Linked DNA regions of Homo sapiens: all the other regions are linked to region 1. Evidence: promoter capture Hi-C in 16 types of primary human blood cells and fetal thymus (Javierre and others, 2016). All regions are on one chromosome and are shown on one strand. The core of a region is centred on a gene start or on the middle of the fragment in contact, and the rest is flanking DNA. Distances in the headings are between cores, read along the strand shown.

The links. Contacts are between HindIII fragments. The CHiCAGO score rates a contact against its expected background, and 5 or more counts as called.
Region 2: a contact is called between a fragment that was not itself captured here and the fragment with the promoter of CMIP in region 1, in 3 of 17 cell types (naive B cells, total B cells and neutrophils). The highest score is 9.2, in naive B cells.
Region 3: the fragment with the promoter of PLCG2 here is called in contact with the fragment with the promoter of CMIP in region 1 in 3 of 17 cell types (neutrophils, naive B cells and total B cells); the score reaches 12.3 in neutrophils.

The regions. Positions count from the first base shown.
Region 1 is chr16:81,442,554-81,447,325 of GRCh38, reverse strand. It overlaps CMIP (c-Maf inducing protein), which reads right to left and starts at 2,518. Exons shown (of 21, transcript NM_198390.3): 1 at 1,785-2,518. The coding sequence starts at 2,084. RefSeq lists enhancers at 1-214, 215-980, 3,145-3,677 and silencers at 1,526-1,825, 2,256-2,305, 2,376-2,725, 2,836-2,935. The HindIII fragment of the contact is 9,361 bases long and covers 1-4,772 here.
Region 2 is chr16:81,795,947-81,800,718 of GRCh38, reverse strand. All of the region lies in intron 2 of PLCG2 (phospholipase C gamma 2), which reads right to left. Among named protein-coding and RNA genes, the nearest start is that of PLCG2, 19 kb to the right of the region's middle. RefSeq lists enhancers at 1,675-2,284, 2,555-2,974, 3,025-3,074. The HindIII fragment of the contact is 5,626 bases long and covers 1-4,772 here.
Region 3 is chr16:81,777,422-81,782,193 of GRCh38, reverse strand. PLCG2 (phospholipase C gamma 2) reads right to left here and starts at 2,903. Exons shown (of 33, transcript NM_002661.5): 1 at 2,770-2,903. RefSeq lists silencers at 2,598-2,677, 2,688-2,787, 2,818-3,087, 3,116-3,410. The HindIII fragment of the contact is 8,410 bases long and covers 1-4,772 here.

The DNA.
Region 1 (4,772 bases), core at 1,269-3,768:
GGCAGGTCACTGTTCCTTCTAACCATTTTCCTACCCCACCACCAACAACCCTTCATTTTGTGGAGTGTAAGAGGAAAAAAAAAAAAAAAGCCCAATAAAGTCCCCCTGAGCCAGGTGAAAATTCTGAAGCCAGATCTGGGGTCTCCAGAATCCAGGCAGGGGGCACCGCGGTCACCAGTTCCTCCCCACATCAGAAACACTCCGTACTGGCAAATTTTCGGAGGCTCTCTCCCGCCTCCATCCATTGGAAAGCCAAATGCTGCGGCCTGTGGCGCGGGACGGGCTTGAGAACATGCACCAGCCTGACCGGGGACTGGGCCGCCTCCCCGCGACCAGCAATCCTCCCTGAAAAAGGAGTCTTTGCAGATATTGCACCAACGTGCCCACAGGAAAGAGAAAATAGGTGCTCTAAGCATGTCGGACCCCAAATTAAGAATAAAAGTCCTCGAGGGCTGCAACGCTCTGGGGTGGGGGGTGGGGGACTGGTTCAAAGAGTAGGATTCTTCAGCTAACTTTTCCCCCCTCCCCATTCCTTGGGGCATGTGTCATGGCCTGTGACACACCGCCAAGGGAACATGGATGCCAGGGAAATGTCTACACACGCTACACGTTTGTGACATGCCATGTAAGCGACACCCTATTTCCTGGCTGGGTTTTCTTGGCACAGGTGTGGGCAGGCAGTGGATTCGGCCCCCTCCCACTGCGCTTAGTAAACAGGATCACGGTGGCCCCAGGGAGGAGTGTGCATTCTGGGGAAGACAAGCTACACCCCCAATGAGGATGGGACCCCCACGGCAAGCCTCAGGCCCAAGCCACAGCCGGTATTTGAAACTGTCCTTGTTTCAAAACACAAAGCATCCTGTTCAGGCTCCTACCCGCCACCCCCACTCTCCCCTCGACCCCACCACAGCTGTCTTTCTCCACGTACGAAGAAGGCCACCATTTGCAGATCTGATTTCAGAAACAGATCAATGGTTTTTCCTCTCCGACTCATCCAGCTGACCCAGTCCTACCCATGTATTTAAAAACAATAACAAAATTAAACCTCCAGCAACAAAACACACACGTATACACACACTCTACAGACAATGCCGGACCAGGGCTCCACCAAGCAGCTTCTAGGCTAGAACTCGACCACCGCTGGGTCCTGAGATATTCCAGGACCACTGCCCCCTCCCCCTCCACTTCCAACCTCTCAATGTGCGAATGAGATTTTCAGAAAGGGAAGCACCCCGTTCTGCCTGCCAGCCCTGGCAGGAAAGAGAATAAAGGACGGGTAAACCAAACAGAGAAACTGGCTTCTGGAAATTCTTTGGGTTTGGGGGTTTGGAGGTTTTGTTGTGTTGTTTGTTTTTTTTTTTAAATCTGAGGGGTGGTATTTTGTTTTCCCCTCCCCCACCCCTCAGATCCAGATGGGCCAGGGGCTTCCAGAGAGAACCCCCACCACCATCAGGGCCCAGCGTCGGGTCCATCCTCGAGTCCCAGCCACCAGAAACACAAGAGCTGGGGGCAGAAGGTCCCCAGGCACCCAGCCTGGCGGTGGGCCGAGTCTCCAGCATTTTAAGGGTCTCTCCTGAGCCCGGTCGGCTGGTTTGGGCTTCAGACTCCAAAATCGAGCCCCGCGAGCAGGCCAGGAGCGAGGCGCCCTGGTTCTCCCCGTTCCCCCGGCACCCCCCACCGCCCCCCAGGCCCTGGGCTCCAGGTGCAGCGCCAGGGGGCAGCCAGGGAGGGCGCATCTCGGGCCCCGAGGAGAGGCGGGGGTGCAGCCGCGCAGAGCCACTCACCGTGGCGGACGCCAGGCTGTTGTCGGCCAGCGTTAGGTGGTGCGGCTCCCAGCGCCTCAGGAATTTCGAGGTGAGGATCTTGCTGAGAAAGGTCCGCGGGTGCCGGATGACACAGACCTGAATGTCGCCCTCCTGCAGCAGTTTGTACCTCATCCCGTTGCAAAGCAGAAGAGCCCGGCGGCAGGGCACGGCGCCCATCTTCGTGCCTTCGGGGGCCGACACGTCGCCCCCCAGCAGCGGCTTGGTCTCCTCGATCTGCCGGGGGTCGCCGCCGCCGCCCGAGCTGCTGGTCACATCCATGGCCGCGCCGGGGGAGGGGGCTGGGGGCGGGGAGAGGGGGCTGTCCTGGGCTGCTGGGGCGGCGGGGCCCCCGGATCCGGCGGCCCGCACCCCCCCACCCCCCGGGAAGGTGGGGGGGTGTGGGGCTGGGGGCGCCCGCAGGGGAGGGGGCGCTGCCCGCGGGGGGCGGCGCGTGCGGCGGGCTGGGCCGGCCTCGGCGCTTCCTGCGGGGCTCCGGGCTTCCTCCTAGCTCGTCGGGTGCATGCTCGCGGCGGCTGACCGGGCTCGGCGGGCGACGGGGAGGGGCGGGGGAGGCCGAGGGCGGGCCGGGGCCAGGCGCGGAGGGCGGGCGCCGGGGTGGGGGCGGCGGGGTGGGGGCGGGCGTGTCTCGGGGCCCCGCGCCGCCGCGCGCGTGTGTACAGAGCGTGTGTCCGCGCGGCCGTCCGGGCGAGAGTGGCCGCGGGCGGGGCGGGCCGCGCGCCGGGCTCCCGGAGCCCGGGGCGCCCGCGCGATTGGTCCCCGCAGGGTCATGTGCCCGCCCCTCTGACGTCAATGGCGGCAACGGCGGCGGCCGCGGCGGCTTCGGCCTCTCGCGGGCGGAGTCCGCGGTCCGGGCGGGGTCGCGGCCCACGACGGGGAGGCGCGGCCCGACGGGAGGGGCAGCCCCTGGGGAGGGGGCTGGGGCGGGCGAGCCCCGCGGGGTCCCGGCCCGCCCCGCCTGGAATGTGGGGAGGGGGCGGGGCGCGGGGGCGGGGCGCGTGACGTCACGCCAGCCGCGCCCCCGCGGGTGCCCGGGCGGGAGCCCAGCCAGGCTGCCGGAGCCTGGGGGCCCGCGCCTCACCCACCCCCGCCGCCCCCGGGCCGGACTCGGACGGGTAAAGAAGGATACCCGAGGGCCGGGGGCTGGGTGGAAGGACGGGGACTGGAACCCTCGACCCCTGACGCCCCCTCCGCTGTCCAGGCTGTCCAGCGGGCTGGCCAGATGGGGCCGTGGGACGGGGACGCCTTCCCGACTGAAAGTGTCCCCGCGGTGATCCGGAGGATGAGCCCACCCTGCCCTGTCTCCCACTGCGGGACCCAGCCGGCCTCGAACTCCTGGCCTTTGACGTCTGCTGGCTTTGGCCTTGGGGGTCCTCAAACCTTCTGGAGAGAGGGGACGGTCCGCCCATCCCCCTTCTTTCTTCTGCCCAGGGAGACAGAGCCTCTTCTAGGAACCCACTTAAAGCACCCCCCAACCTACACAGCCACCCCTCTTGTGCGCACCCCAGCAGCTCCCCCTACTTCACCTTCCCTGGGACCCCACCTGGTCATTTTATCTGAGTTCACAGGCCCAGCACCAGCCCACGAGAGAACCATATTCGATTCTCTTGTGACCCAGGGTATCAGGAACTGCAGCCTGGATGCAAAAAGCTCCCTTTCTGCCATCACAAGCAGCCGGCACCTAAGGCCACCTAGCAAATGCTCAGCTCCTCAGCCAGGTTTTCTTATCTCCACGTGCTCCTGCAGCTAATAACGTTAAAACCCTAGATTTTTGCCTTTTTAAGTGAAGGCGCCTCTGTAGTGAACACATGAATGTGTGCAGCGTGTGTTGAACTGCGTCGTGAACACTGCGGAATATCCACAGCATCTGTGCCGTTGGTGGAAATTATTCACCCCCCCTCTCCCAAGAACAGGCAGCATGAAGGTGCTCCCCAGAGGACCCTCTCCCCGAGCCTGGCCAGGGTTTCAGGCAGGGGATGAAAGGCAGGTCCCAGGCTGCATCCCTCACCAAGGAAAGAAGACTCACATCCAGCCTGCCCAGGAGATGCCTCCTTGGGGAGGCACAATTAGATTAGAAAGTTAGAAATTCCTTAGCTCCCCACAATTTGCTGCCATTTCCTTCCAGTTTTGAGCTTGAACAGCCTTGAGAAAACCACCAAGCATGAAGGGGCAAGCCCTAGATATGTGGGTGTTGGGGGGTGGTTGGGGCCAAGAAACCCCCCAGTCCATTAAGCGGGTGGGATTAGATCCTTTGTTCAAATATTTTCATTGAGCTCCTGCTGTATGCTGGTCACAGGCCAGGCACTAGGGTATTAATGGTAATGACTATAATAACCACAGTGGCCAGAGGCTTCCTATGTGCTAAGAATTTTGTACGCACACATCATTCTCTTCTCACACCCTATGACATAGGTGCTGTCCTCATCCTCAACCACAAAGCATGGAGGTCAGAGTCCAGAACAGTAACAGACATTGTGCTTGGTGCTCCAGGAACAGAAAGGGGGATGTCTAACCCAGTGTGGGGGACCAGGGTACTCTAAGAGTTCTTTAGGAATCAAGTAAAGAAGGGGATAGGTGCTCCAAGAAGACGAACTGGCTCCTACCAAGGCAAAGAGATGGGAGGATGCTCAGCTTGTTCAGGAAACTGAACTCACTTGCCATGGGGTGCAAGGTCCCTGGAGGAGGTGGAGCAGAGATGTAGGCGGTGAGCAAGCAGCACCCTGAAATGCAAACCCAGGGACTAGAGCAGTGGGGAGACACCACATGGGCCATGCAAAGGAGTGACTTGTACATGGCTTCTTCAAAAGGCTGCAGTGTGGCACAGATGAGCATTGCAGAGGAGAAACCTAGAGGCAAGGAGGCCAGTGAGGAGACTTTCATGCTCACCTACCCCCCACAGAAGGAAGCAACAAGGGCTAGCACAAAGTCACTGGGTGGAGTGGCCCAGTG
Region 2 (4,772 bases), core at 1,243-3,742, 350 kb before region 1:
CTGCCTATCATAGAGGGTTGGAAATAACAATAATAATAATAATAATAATAATAGCAATAGTATCACAATAGCGAAGATAGGGAATCAACCCAAATGCCCATCAACAATAGACTGGATAAAGAAAATATGGTACATATACACCATGGAATACTATGCAGCCATAAAACGGAACGAGATCGTGTCCTTCGCAGGGACATAGATGAAGCTGGAAGCCATCATCCTCAGCAAACTAACACGGGAACAGAAAACCAAACACTGCATGTTCTCAATCATAAGTGGGAGCTGATCAATGAGAACACATGGACACAGGGAGGAGAACAACACACACCAGGGCCTGTTGGGGAGCAGGGTAAGGATGGAGGAGAGCATCAGAATAAATAGCTAATACATGCAGGGCTTAATATCTAGGTGATGAGCTGATAGGTGCAGCAAGCCACGATGGCAAACGCTTACCTATGTATCCCACACATTCTGCACATGTATCCCAGAACTTACAATAAAAGTAAATTTAAACAATAATAATAGCAATAGTAGCTCTTATAGAGTGCTTGGGATATTTGCCAGGTACTATGATACCCAAAGTATGATACATAATTAACTCCCCTAATCCTCATGAGAGTCCAGTGTAATAGGTACCATTATTATCCTATTTTACAGATGAGTGCAATGAAAAGTTAAGTAACTTGTCCATGGCCACAAATGGGATAAGTGGCATAGCCAAGATCTGAACCCAGGCAGTCAGACCCTGGATCCCTTGCTCTTGAGTATGTGGGGTCTGTCATATTATTTTTTAAACCAACATCGACATTTAAAATAGTTAATAACAGGCTGGGCTCAGTGGTTCACACCTGTAATCCCAGCACTTTAGGAGGCCAAGGTGGGAGGATCACGAGGTCAGGAGATCGAGACCATCCTGGCTAACACGGTGAAACCCCATCTCCACTAAAAATACAAAAAAATTAGCCAAGTGTGGTGGCGGGCGCCTGTAGTCCCAGCTACTCGGGAGGTTGAGGCAGGAGAATGGTGTGAACCTGGGAGGCGGAGCTTGCAGTGAGCCAAGATGGTGCCATTGCACCTGGGCAATAGAGCGAGACTCTGTCTCAAAAAAAAAAAAAAAAAATTAATAACAGGCCAGGCTCAGTGGCTTGCACCTGTAATCCCAGCACTTTGGGAGGCCAAGATGGGAGGATCTCTTGAGGCCAGGAGTTCAAGGCTACAGTGACCTATGGTCACACCACTGCACACCAACCTGGGTGACAGAGCAAGACCCTGCCTCAAAAAATTAATTAATTCATTAACTAAAATAAATTAGTTAATAATACTAACATGGTCACAAAGTAGTACAAAATGAAAAAGGCAGATTACTAAAGTACATTACAAAAGGGTCGCATGTTGTGAAAATGTCTTGTGAATAAAGTTTTGTTGGACAAAAAGATTTGGAAGGTGGTACACCAGGTGTTAACACCATCTCTCTGGGTAGGGGGGTGGCGGGGGCTAAGGGGTTGTTTTTCTCACCCAGAAGTAGGTTAAAATGTGTCTACCAATGAACACATAGTACTTCTATAATGAGGGGGAAAAAGCAGTTGTTTTAATTAGGAGAAATATGCAAGGCCAGAGGGAAGCAGCTCAGAGCTGTCTAAACAGGAAACTGGCGTAACGTTCACTCTGCGCCACGCTGGGCTTGGGCCCTTCTTGCCTCCCCAGGGACACGGGCCCTCCTTCAGTCATGCTACTACCTGGTGTAGGGGCTTTTCCCACTGGTGGAGGCTGGTGGCAGGCCAGGGACATCCTGGAGTGGCTGGTAGTGCTGGGGAGAGAGACACCTGGCCGGTGAAATCCAGCCGAAGCAGGAGCAGAGAAGACGCAGTGGGATCCCTGAAGTCCTGAGGCCGGGGAGGCCAGCCCCTCCTCCACCTCTTCTGAGCTCTGCGGGGTCTCCTCTTCCTGCTGCACATGCTCTCACCATGCCTTGCCTAATTTTGCTAGTTTCCATTCTACAAATTAGTAAGTTCCCATTTCCTTCTTTCTCAAAACAGAATCCTTCACACACACAGATACTTCACCTCCCAAAACTCACGCCTACCCCTGGCCTCCAGCACAACTTGTATAGATGAAAGCAGCACCTTACAGCTTCTTCCCAACAGCCCTGTGACAGTGGAGTGGCCCCCAGGCTGTGATGTGGTATCATCACTGTTTCTATTTCCAGAACTTCACCTTCACCCTGTCGACGCTCCTTCTCCAAGCCCAGGCCTCCCCAGCCTCCCAGAAGCACTGGGCTGCTTTTATATCCAGGCTCAGGTCCAAGAGCACTTAACCCCAGAGGACCCCTAGCTGTGTGCTACAGAAGAGCAGGAGGAGGACACCCCCTACACATGCGAGCTATGTCTCAGCCTGTCCCATGTCCCCCACGCAAACACAAATGCAGGCACCTGCTGCCTGAGGAGACATATGGCAGCATGGCTGGGAGGCACCCTGTGTTAAGTACATACTGGACTTGTGACAATCACTTACAAACTGAATCCTCCCAGTGATCTGATGGGGTAAGCTCCACTATTACCCCATCTTATAGATAAGAAAACTGAGACTCAGGCCAGGCGCGGTGACTCACACCTGTAATCCCAACACTTTGGGAGGCCAATGCAGGCAGATCACTTGAGGTCAGAAGTTCAAGGCCAGCCTGGTCAACATGGTGGAACCCCATCTCTACTAAAAATACAAAAATTAGCCAGGTGAGGTGGAGGGTACCTGTAATCCCAGCTACTCAGGAGGCTGAGGCAGAATAATTGCTTGAACCCGGGAGGCAGAGGTTGCAGTGAACTGAAATTGTGCCGCTGCACTTCAGCCTGGGGACAGAGTGAGACTCCATCTCAAAAAAAAAAAAGACAAGAAAAAAGAAAACTGAGACTCAAAGAGGCCAAGTAGATTGCCTAAGGTCACACAGTCACTAAGTGCCAGGACCACGAGTGGAACCACGGTGTATGGTTAAAGAGGAAGTTGTCACAGAGGTGCCCTATCTCAACCCCAGATACTGCTGCCATGGTTAGGAAGAAACCGGAAGTCCGAGGCTGAAAGGGGCAGCCAGGGCCTTTTCCTGATTCATCTGTTAACCAGGTATCTGAGGAGCACCAGCCACAGGCCAGATATGGGCCAGGTGCTGGGAAGTCCCCCTTATGAACAGAACAGACAGGGTCCCTGGCCTCCCAGCACTCTTAGTCTGTGGGTCAGGACTACCGAAGGCCTGGCCCCAAGATCGGGCCTTGCATGAAAGCAGGAAAAGTCAACCCCAGGATTTCTGATTTCAACCCCAAACTGCACAGCACCTAAATCTCTCCCAAGACAAATCAAGACACATAATTTTGCGAGCCTGATATACAAAAACCCGCATTTATATCTAAGACAGACTAGGGGACAGGTAGTGGAGATAATTTTTTTTTTTTCAAAAATGATTCACCAAGGGACATCTTTAACTAGATCCCTCCCCCAACTCAGCACAATCCCTAAGACGTTGGACCTGCACTGACTTGTCAGGAACTCCAAATATACCTGCATTCCCAGAACTTGGTGCTATTTTGAGGGACAAATGCTGCCTCCCTCGTTTACCCACTACACTGTATTCCCTCTTACACCCTCAGGGCCCAGGCCAGAACCAACGCAGCTAGAAAATAACATGACACGTGGAAGAAAGCAACGCCTCTTAAATTCCGTTATGACAAACCACAACCCATCCATAGTATCAGTGGCTGAATGGGTAGGTCAATCCCTGTACTCACCCCGTTGCCCTCAGGCCCCTGTTACATGAGAGTGTATTTGTGTGTTAGGCCTGCCACTCATGAAATACCAAAAATTGGATGGCCGAAACAACAGAAGTTTGTCTCACAGTTCTGGAGACCAGAAGTCCAAAATCAAAGTGTTGGCGAGGCTGGTTCCTCCTGAGGGAGCACCCCTGGTGTTCCTTAGCTTGCAGATGCATGACTCAGATTTCTGTATCTGTCTTCACATGGCCTTCTCTCCCTGTGTCTCTCTCTCCTCTTCTCATAAGGAAACCAGTCATATTGGATTAGGGCCCACTCTATTCCATTATGATTTCATCTCAACTAATTACATCTGCAAAGACCCTCTTTCCAAATAAGATCACATTCTGAGTATGGGGATTAGGACCTTGACATATGAAATTGGTAAGGACAATTCAATCCGTAACAGGCACCCACCACTGCCCACAGCCCGGGAGCCAGACGATGTCCTCTTACAGGAGACCACCTCCAATCCACCCCTATGCCCAGGAAAGGCTGGCCGTGCCAAAGGATACTGATCTCCAAAGCAGCCTGCTCATGTGTGCTGGCTTTAAAAGGCATGGCCCATAGGAGGCCTCTCTCTCAGGGGTCCATCCTTGGGAGGTTGCAAAACCAAAGCTGTCACTGATGTGGCAGCAACAGAAAAAGCCAAGGTTTGGAGACAGTCTGTGCTGGGGAGGGGAGGGCCACATCTGTGAGAGAAACCCAAGAGGGCAGATGAGGCTGTCTAAGAGACATCACCATCAGCAGCTCTAGTTACAGACAGGAAAGTCCTCAGTGCCAGTGGCTCACCACTTCCCTTTCCATGCAGCCCAGCGATGAGACTGTTCATTCTCCTGGATTCCTACAAGACTCCCAAACCCTTACCATCAACCTGCTTATCAGCCTTCACTGGGGCACCTAGAGCTGCCTCTGTACCCTCCAAAATTAGGGGTTACAGAAAAGCCTGGAAGGATGCCCCCCAACTTAGGCCCTGTTCTT
Region 3 (4,772 bases), core at 1,654-4,153, 330 kb before region 1:
TTAGAAAGGCATAAAATGGGCCAGGCACGGTGGCTTATGACTGTAATTCCAGCACTTTGGGAGGCCGAGGTGGGCGGATCATGAGGTCAGGAGATCAAGACCATCCTGGCTAACACGATGAAACCCCGTCTCTACTAAAAAAAAATACAAAACAATTAGCCGGGTGTGGTGGCACATGCCTGTAATCCCAGCTACTCGTGAGGCTGAGGCAGGAGAAAGGCGTGAACCCGGGAGGCGGAGCTTGCAGTGAGCCGAGATCGCGCCACTGCACTCCAGCCTGGGCGACAGAGCAAGACTCCGTCTCGGGGGCGGGCGGGGGGGGGGGGGGAAAGGACATGAAATGAGATGCGAGGACCCAAAACCAGAAATCAAGGAAGTTTTTGTCTCTTCAGTGCTCTGTGCATGGTAAGCCAGTACAGGATTTCATCCAAAAATCCCACAAGACAATTGTGTTAAAATGGAGCACAGGCAAATACTTGAGTGGTAAGGGCCCCTCCAACAGTTCAAGGGACATTACTGCTGCACCTTACACCCACCCTGCAGCATTAGAGGGAATACACTATTTTCAAAGGAATGGTGTCAGCCACTGCAAGTGAGAGTGTAAATTCCACCCCTGCTCCTTTAGGGCAACCTGTGAGCAGCTACTAAAAAGCAAAACACGCATATGCTTCGATCCTGCAATTGTACATGTAAAGAAAGACATGCACAAAGATGCAATATGTACGACAGAAAATCACGGAAGCAATAGTTGCAATAGAAATACAAAAAAAGAAAAAAAAACAGAAAACAACTGCTCATCAATGTGGGGGGCCTCCTGGATAAATAATGGTGCACATGCACTGAAGAACGCTCAGTAGCCATCAGAAAGAATGAGGATGATAGATAAGCAATTTGATCTGGAAAGATTTGTGAGGTCAATAAAAAAATAGCTTCAGACAATAGTTGCAACTGTATGAGTATAATACAATTCCCTTTTTATAAAGGTGATCTTCTGGTAAATCCAGGAGAGTGGTTACTATTTATCGGAGGCTGGGAGAGGGTAGAGGATACAACTTGACTTTATTTATATTAACTGATGATGTAACGGGCAAATTTTTCTCTTTGTGTTCTTGCTGTTTTCTAAATTAAGAAGTGTTTGTGTGTGTTTGTTTGTTTGTTTGTTTGTCTTGAGATGGAGTCTCTCTTGTCACCCAGGCTGGAGTGCAGTGGCATGATCTGGGTTCACTGCAACCTCCACCTCCTGGGTTCAAGTGATTCTCCTGCCTCAGCCTCCTGGGTAGCTGGGATTACAGGCGGCCACCACCACGCCCAGGTAATTTTTGTAGTTTTAGTAGAGATGGGGTTTCACCATGTTGGTGAGGCTGGTCTGGAACGCTTGACCTCAAGTGATCAGCCCAGCTCGGCCTCCCAAAGTGCTGGGATTACAGGTGTGAGCCACCGTGCCTGACCAAGAAATGTTTTCAAAAGTTTTCTCACCAGCAGCTTTTCATTGACTCTACCCAATGAGTGCAAAAGGGCTATTCATGGGGTCTGTGCTTTTCCACTTCCAGAGGAACTGCCCATACTCCAGTCGCTGGTGGGGGAAGGCAGCTGCATCATTAGGTGACTTAAACATCAGTGAGGCTCACAATGACGATTGTCCCTGAGCTGGTATACACGTGACTGCACACACACCTTTGCAAGAGAAACTGCTTGAGGCTGGCATAGACTTCAAAATTCTGTAAAACTTCCCCGCAGAACTGTAGTCAAGGACGAGGGCCCATGCCCCAGAGAATGCCCTTGAACCAGAGAGTCAGGAACTGCCCAAGGACTCTCCATGGATGCGCCCCGATTCTCAGCGAACCTCGTGGAACAGCAATAAGCCCCAATTCTCGACACAGCCCTGGAAAATTGGGTGGCTCCAGTATCCAGAGGGGGAAACAGACTCAAAAAGGTTCTTCAACTTGCCCAGGGTCCCACTGATGGAACTGAAATTCAAATTAAGTTCCGACGGGCAAGGCCACCTGTTTCCCTCGCGCCATGTCACCCCTTTACCACCCCGCCCCCCATAGTTTCTCACCCTAGTTCAAGATTAGGGTACCAAGAGAGCCCCGCCCCACCGTCCTGCTGGAATCCAGGAGCTCCCCGTCCAAACGGGGCACGTCTTTAACCTGAACTCTTGCGCTGTGCGGGTAATGCCCTCTTTGGGATTCCAAAACACAACAAAACACAACACGCACAGACACACGCATAATTACGCAGACAGCTGCGGAGCGGGCATCGCGAGTGTCCTGCAAGCTCTCCAAAAGTCTCCGGGAAGGACTGCGCCTCCCGCGGTATCGCTCCCACCCGCCACCCGCAACCACCGAAGTGAGACAGGGAAGTGTGGCTCCGAGCGTCCGCGAGCTCTGGGCACAAGGGCCGTCAAGAGAGACGGCGCCACCCCACGCAGAGCCGCTCGAAAAGAGGAGTTTTGAACGCCAGCCCCCACACGACCCCTGACCTTCCTCCCGGTCCCCATTCAAAGCTGGGGCCGCCCCACCGCACGGACCGGAGAGGTGGCGCCGGCCCGGGGTGAGGAAGTGGCCAGCGGCTGGGCCAGGATCCCTGCCGTCACCAAACGGACCCCGGGCACGGCGGGCCGGGGTCCCCGAGGGTGCGCCCCGTCCCTGCCCGCTCCGGCTGAGCCAGGACGCAGACCCCCTCGGACGCAGCGCCCTGGGAGCCGGTCCCCGCGGGGCGCAGGTCCCTGGGCGCCCTGCCTGCCTCGCTCCCGGCCGGGCAGCTCACCTGGCCGTGCCGCCCGGGCACAGCTGCCCGCCTGCCCCGGGTTTGGGCTCCGGGGTCCCGCGCGCGCAGCCCGCGTCCCGACTCGGGTCACTCAGCGCCGCTCACGCCCTCCGCCGCCGGCGCTCGCTACTTCTGCTTCGGCCGCGGCGCCGCGCCACGTGATCCTCGGGGGCCGCCCCCCGCACCGCCCAGCCTCGCCCCGCCTCGCCCCGCCCCAGGCGCGCCCAGCCGGGTCCGCCTCTCGGAGCGCACCCCGAGTGCAGCGTCCCCGCGCCCTCCCCGCCATGGAGCGGCCCAGGCCTGGAGCCCCGCCTCTGCGTGCCAAAGAAGAAACTGAGGCAACCCGAGGGGAGGCTACCTGCCCGAGGCCACTTGGCCAGGTGCAAAGGGAATTCCCCAATATCATGGCATTCCTGGAGAGCCGGCCGCAGTCCAGGTGTTTGCCGTATACTTAACACACTCCCGGCCGGGCGCCCGGGCTCACGCCTGTCATCCCAGCTCTTTGGGAAGCCTAGACGGGAGGATCGTCTGAGCTCGAGAGTTCGAGACAGCAATGAGCTAGGATGGGTGTGGCCGAGAGACACTCCGTCTCAAAAATAAATAAATAAAAATTAAAAATAAATATACTCTTCACAATTACCCGCCAGGAATTGCCAATTCATGGCCCTAATTTGAAGCCCTCGTTGAGGCTGCGCTGGAGTCAGACCAACCCTTACTGCTACCTTAGGCAGACCACTTAAAAACCGACAGCCTCAGTTTCCCCATCTGTAAAACGTGATCAACATAGTGCCAGCCCCAAAGGGAGTCAGGAGCAAAGAACCCCAGACAATTGATGTCCCGTTTTCCTGATCTCATGGGAAGAAGCTAATATGTTCTTTAAGAAATTTATTTTTCCGTTCGTGTGTTGCATGAAGCTATCTGATTCAAACCCTTCCTATGCTCTTTGATGGAGGTATCTTTGTTGTGACTAGAGGCAGTTTCAGGGGCACCTAGACAGCTGTCAGGCACTTGAATTTCACTTCCAAGTTGCTTGAGTTATAGCTTCTGTTTTCTAAGAGGCAGGGTCTCACTCTGTCACCCAGGCTGGAGTGCAGTGGTGCCATCATAGCTCACCACATCCTCGAACTCCGGGACTCAAGCGATCCTCCTGCTTCTGCCTCCTGAAGAGCTGGGACTATAGAGGCACACCACACTTGGCTAATTTTCTCTTTTTTCGACATGAGGTCTCACTATGTGTCCCAGGCTGTTCTTGAACTCCTGACCTCAAGCAATCCTCCTGCCTCTACCTCCCAAAGCACTGGGATCACAGGCATGTGCCACTGGTCTGTTATAGCGTTTTTTTTGTGTGTGTGTGTTTTTGGTTTTTTTTGTTTTTTTTTTTGTTTTTTTTTTGTTTTTTTTTTTTTTTGAGACAAAGTCTTGCTCTCTTGCCCAGGCTGGAGTGCAGTGGCACGATCTCGGCTCACTGCAACCTCCACCTCCCAGGTTTAAGCGATTCTCCTGCCTCAGCCTCCTGAGTAGCTGGGATTATAGGTGTATGCCATCATGCTTGGCTAATTTTTTGTATTTTTACTAGAGACGCGGTTTCACTATGTTGGCCAGATTGGTCTCAAACTCCTGACCTCAAGTGATCCACCCACCTTGGCCTCCCAAAGTGCTGGGATTACAGGCATGAGCCACTGCACCCGGCCTGTTATAGCGTTTTTTAATTGAGGAATATCACTCTCACTGTCAATGTTGTATCCCAAGCCATAGGACTCGTTTGTGACTTCACAAGATCTGTGGATTCATTTCTTTCAGCACTCCCAACTGGCGTGTATAGCTGTGCTCATCACCACAGATCACTTAACACATCAATTTTTTAAAGAGATCTTGGAAGGACTCATTATGACATCAACCACTTGAAGTCATTGGGCCAATTCCCCAGGAAAAATGACTACATCTAGGGGCAATTCCTTTGCCTCACTTTTTTTTTTTTTTTTTTTTTAGAACTTCAGCTTGTA